Regions from separate parts of the Homo sapiens genome. Here region 1 is linked to region 2. Evidence: promoter capture Hi-C in human tissues and cell types (Jung and others, 2019). All regions are on one chromosome and are shown on one strand. The core of a region is centred on a gene start or on the middle of the fragment in contact, and the rest is flanking DNA. Distances in the headings are between cores, read along the strand shown.

What was found. The method cuts DNA at HindIII sites, captures the fragments that hold promoters and counts their contacts. A contact is called where the count stands out against the background at its distance.
Region 1: the fragment with the promoter of MAPRE1 here is called in contact with a fragment that was not itself captured in region 2 in 1 of the 25 tissues and cell types used here (lymphoblastoid cells).

Annotation. Positions count from the first base shown.
Region 1 is chr20:32,818,569-32,821,268 of GRCh38, forward strand. MAPRE1 (microtubule associated protein RP/EB family member 1) reads left to right here and starts at 1,386. Exons shown (of 7, transcript NM_012325.3): 1 at 1,386-1,460. RefSeq lists a silencer at 1,103-1,692 and enhancers at 1,765-2,434, 2,435-2,700. The HindIII fragment of the contact is 10,810 bases long and covers 1-2,700 here.
Region 2 is chr20:32,493,974-32,496,693 of GRCh38, forward strand. The region is part of intron 4 of NOL4L (nucleolar protein 4 like); the gene reads right to left. Among named protein-coding and RNA genes, the nearest start is that of NOL4L-AS1, 66 kb to the right of the region's middle. The HindIII fragment of the contact is 4,356 bases long and covers 1-2,720 here.

The DNA.
Region 1 (2,700 bases), core at 136-2,635, 320 kb after region 2:
TGATTCTCCTGCCTCAGCCTCCCAAGTAGCTGGGATTACAGGCGCCCACCACCATGCCCGGCTAAGTTTTGCATTTTTAGTAGAGATGGGGTTTCGCCATGTTGGACAGGCTGGTTTCCAACTCCTGACCTCAGGTAATTCATCCGCCTTGGCCTCCCAAAGTGTTGGGATTACAGGTGTGAGCCACCACGCCCAGCCCAGTTCCTCCTTCAGCCAAGGCTCTCTTGAGAATGTAAGGGCCAGGTGTGGTGGCTCACGCCTGTAATCCCAGCACTTTGGGAGGCCGATGCGGGTGGATCTCTCGAGCCCAGGAGACCAGCCCAGCCTGGGCAACATGGCAAGACCCCATCTCTTAAAAAAAAAAAAAAAAAAAAGAGGGAGTGGGCAAGAGAGAATGTATGTACAGCCATTGGGAAACAACCCGGAACAGGACTCAGGAGGTCCTTGCTCCTGTGGACTTTACAGGAGACAGACAGTAAAGGCACAAGATGCCTTCTTATGGTACTAAGAAGAAAATATGCCGCATGATATTGCAGATGGGGGGGCGGGGGCGTCACAGAACGTGACTTTTTTTTTTTTTTTTTGAGACAGAGTCTTGCTCTGTCGCCCAGACTGGAGTGCAGTGGTGCAGTCTCGCCTCACTGCCACCTCCGTCTCCTGGGTTCAAGTGATTCTCCTGCCTCAGCTTCCCAAGTAGCTGGAATTACAGGCGCCCACCACCACGCCAGGCTAATTTTTGTATTTTTAGTAGAGATGGGGTTTCACTATGTTGGCCAGGCTGGTCTCAAACTCCTGACCTCAGGTGATCCTCCCACCTGGGCCTCCCAAAGTGCTGGGATTAAAGGCGTGAGCCACTGCACCCGGCCCAGAAAGTTGACTTCTAAGCGTTTCCCCAAAGTGTCTATTAGGTATCTTTATGATTCAATAACCCATTCTTACAGAAATTAATTGTAAGCCTGGGAGCGGTGGCTCACGCCTGTTATCCCAGCGCTTTGGGAGGCTAAGGCGGGAGGATCGCTTGAGGCCAAGAGTTCGAGACCACCCTGGGCAACACAGCGAGACCTCCATACATCTCTAAGCAAAAAAAAAAAAAAATTCATTGTAAAAGCAATTTTCTTTTTGGTTACTGCCATAGGGATTTTGTAACTGAGTCACACCGGGCCGAGGCGGGACCTCATTGGCTGCGACCGACCACGTGCCGCAGTCGCCCCGGCGGTCGGGGCCCCGCCCCTCGGCTACCGTTCTGTGGATCAGGGGCCGAGCTCCGCCCCCGGCGCGCGGCTGAGACCCTCTCTATAAAAGGAGCCGGCGGAGGATGGCGAGCCTTTACGTCGGCGCGTAACGAGGGGGTGCGTGTGAGGTCATCGCGCGGGCGGGCGGGCGGGGTCTGGCGGTTTGAACGAGACGAAGACGGAACCGGAGCCGGTTGCGGGCAGTGGACGCGGTTCTGCCGAGAGCCGGTGAGCCGGCTAGCGGGCCCGGGGGGTGCGGCTGGGGGGGCGGCCGCGTGGGCCAAGGCCGGGCGTGCGCGGGCAGGCCCTACGGGCAGCGCCAGGGCCGTTCCACACGGCGGTGCTGTTCGAGCCGGGTGGGGGAAGGGCGGGGCCGTCACCCGGCGCGCGCGGGCTGGGCCTGGGGGCGCGCGCTGCGCTCTGCTCAGGGGGCGGGGTCTCGGGCCGGAAGTGGGCTGCTGCTACGCGGGGTGGGGGTTTCTGGGCCGCCGCTGAGGTGTGGTCCCTGCGCTGCAGCGACTGGAGGTCCCAGGGTGGTTGGGCCCTGGGAGGGTGTGGGCGAGGTGGGCCGTCCTGGGAGCTCTGGGGACGCACATTGTGGGAGGCCGTGTTGCCTGAGGGCCGAGAGATCGGGTGGTGGAGTCAGACCTGGGTTGGGTTCCGTGCGGTGTGACCTTGGACAGGTGCTTTAACCGCTGTGGATCTCAGCTTCCTCATCTGTAAAACGGGGACAGTAATACTACCCACATTAAACTCTTAGCGCGATGTATGGCAGAAAGTAAGCCAGCTCTTGGACTCCCTCCTTTCTTCAGTGTGTGTTTATTGAATGCCCACTAGGTGTTGGGCACCGTGCTAAACCCTGGCTGTTTTCCCGGGAACAAAGATTTGCTCTCCAGGAATCCACATTATGATGAGCAGGAGGACAGTATAACGGGATGGTATCAACAGTGCTAGTTCAGTCCCTACTTCACAGTTGCCCTCGGATGCTGCAGGGCAGAGCTTGACCTCTGCCCCATTTTGGGGATGAGGATCCTGGGGCCCATTGAGGGAGGTTATGCTAGGCCGGGCATCCGCTTCTCCGATGGCATGTCTCTAACAGTAGTAATGATAATAGCAGCTCTTTGTTAGTTGGGCACTTGTTTTGTGTCAAGCACTGTTAAGTGCTCCATGTGGCTTTGTGTCTTTTAATACTAACACTGTCTTTAAGAGAGATTCTCTTCTTCCTTTTTTTTTTTTTTTTGAGACAGAGTTTTATTCTGTTGCCCAGGCGTGCAGTGGCACCATCGCTCACTGCAACCTCCGCCTCCCGGGTTCAAGCGATTCTCGTGCCTCAGCCTCCCGAGTAGTCGGGATTACAGGCGCGCGCCACCAAGCCCGGCTAATTGTTGTATTTTTTAGTAGAGACGAGGTTTCGCCATGTTGGCCAGGCTGTTGTCGAACTCCTGACCTCAAGTGATCTGTCCGCCTC
Region 2 (2,720 bases), core at 101-2,600:
TAGGCGCAGTGGCTCATGCCTATAATCCCAGCACTTTGGGAGGCCAAGGCAGGTGGATCACCTGAGGTCAGGAGTTCAAGACCAGTCTGACCAACATGGTGAAACCTGGTCTCTACTAAAAATACAAAAATTAGCTGGGTGTGGTGGCACATGCCTGTAATCCTAGCTACTTGGGAGGCTGAGACAGGAGAATCATTTGAACCCAGGAGGTGGAGCTTGCAGTGAGCTGAGATCATGCCACTGCACTCCAGCCTGGGCCACAGAGTGAGATAATCTCGGGAAAAAAAAAAAAAAAAAAAAAAAAAAAAACACACAACACACACACACACACAAACAAATTACTTAAGCTCTCTAAAGCCGAGCCTCAGTTTCCCTGTGTGCTGAGGAACTGAGTTCTGTGTCTGGGGGTACCCAGCACACAGAAGGCCCCCAACAATTGCTGTTCCTGCTCCCCTGCCTACCTCCCTCTCCTCTCTTCTTCCTCCCCACTTTCCCCGTTTCCTTTCTTTTCCATTCTTTTTCTCTGCCCAAGCCTTCGGCATCTTAACACCCAAAGTGATTGTCAAAGTTTAGTTGATGGTGCCCAGGCTGTGGCAGAGACTGTGAACCAGTTTTCTTGATATTATGCCCTGAATCAACATTCTCCCTTATCTTTTTCAACCACAGAGGGTAGAAACATGAAATTCTTTCTTTCCCAGCCTCCCTTACAACTGGGAACCACGTGACCCTTTTGCAGCAATGAGACATCAACACAATGCCTCGAATGTGGACAAGGTTGGAGCAATAGCAGGCAACTTGCAACCATGAGGAAAAGCCTCAATAACATCACAGAGACACCAACCCAACATTGCAAATGGCACCAGCGGCGGCTCCTCCATTCTTCTTGTTTTAGGAGTAAAATAACTTCATGTTTTGCTATAGTCAACTGGGTTTGGGGGCCTGTAGTCAAAAGCATTCCTGGCTTATTCACATGGCTCCTGTCCGCGGGTGGACTAGATGGCAAGGATCCCCCACTCCCATGTGGCCTTTTCTCTTTCAAGAGGACACAGGAGCCTCTTGACTCTTTGAAGAGGACACAGGGGTGCTACGCTACGTCCAGGCACCTGCTGTGCGTACTGTGGTGCCTGGGGAGCAGACAAGCATTTAGTTCCCTCACTTGTGGACTCTGAAGGAGGGAAAACTGTCACGGCTGCAGCACAAGTGTGCCTGGGCACTTCCTCAGCCACAGGAGTATCCCAGTTAAAGAACATCTTCTGTTTCTATCTTATCTCTTGAGGTATTTAGAGCCATTCTAAATGCCAGAGCCTTAGAATGACCATGGGGCTGGCAGGGCATGGGCTCTGTGACTCATATCTGTCGAGGAGGCTGCTTGTGGTTGTGCTGGATCGAGCCCCTCTCCTTGACTATCTTCGGCACCGCAAGCCAAAGCTCAGGGCTGCCCGGGCCTATTCCTGAGGTGGTGCAGGAGAGGCAGATGGGCTGCTGGGGACGAAAGGGGTAGGTAGGCGGGCTCTGGGCTCCGTGCCCAGCATTGCCAGCAACATGCCTGTCTGCTGCTGACCCCTGACCCACTCAACTTCCTCCCCAGAAGACAGTCCCTTGAAGAAAGGGGTTCCTCCATCAAAATGTAAAATTTGAAAGCCACAGATGTCTGACCCAAACCTGCTGATCTAGTAACAGGGAAGCTGCAGCATGAAGAAGTTAGATGGCTGGGGCGCAGTGGCTCACGTCCCAGCACTTTGGGGAGGCTGAGGTGGGGGAATGCTTAAGCCCAGGAGTTCAAGACCAGCCTGGGCAACATGGCGAGACCCCATCCCTACAAAAAATACAAACATTAGCTGGGCGCGGTGTTGAGCACCTGTGGTCCCAGCTACTCAGGAGGCTGAGGTGGGAGAATTGCTTGAGCTCAGGAGGTCAAGGCTGCAGTGAGCTGTGATCATATCACTGCACCCCAATAAAAGAAGTTAGATGACTCGTGGGGCAGAGGCACACCTAGAACCAGAGTCGCTGGACTCCCTCTCAGGTGCTCATCTCCACTTTCGACCTGAGACAGGCCCAGGTCCCTGCCCTGCTTCCCTCTGGCAGAGAAAGATCACCACTAGGCTTCACATCACAACACATGTGCACCCGGCTGGCAGGCCCTGGGAGAGCTGCCTTTGAAGACGGCTCCCAGGCATAGCTCCCCCTTACTCCTCTATCTGAGCCCCACTGCTGTTCCTACCCCAGGGTCTTTGCATGTGCTGTCTCCTGTGCCTGGAAAGCCCTCCCACTTCATCTCTGCAGGGCTGGCCACTTCTCACCATTCAGGCCTTGGCTCGGATGCTGCCTCTTCAGAGAGGCCTTCTTGCCCTGAGGCACAGTCTGTCATCTTACTCTATTTTAATTATCTACCCCAAATTTCCTCCTTTTGCATATTTTTTTATATTGCCTTGTTTATCATCTCCAGGCCTGTGAGCTCCTAGGGATGGGTACCTTATCTGTCTCATTCACTGTGGTATCTTCCGTGCTTGGAATGACCTCCAGCATGTAGTAGGAACCTCGGAAATGATTTTTGAGTGAAGGAAGGAAGAAATTTCTTTCTTTCTTTTTTTTTTTTGAGAGAGTTTCACTCTTGTTGCCCAAGCTGGAGTACAGTGGCATGATCTCAGCTCACTGCAACCTCTGCCTCCCAGGTTCAAGTGATTCTTCTGCCTCAGCCTCCCGAGTAGCTGGAACTACAG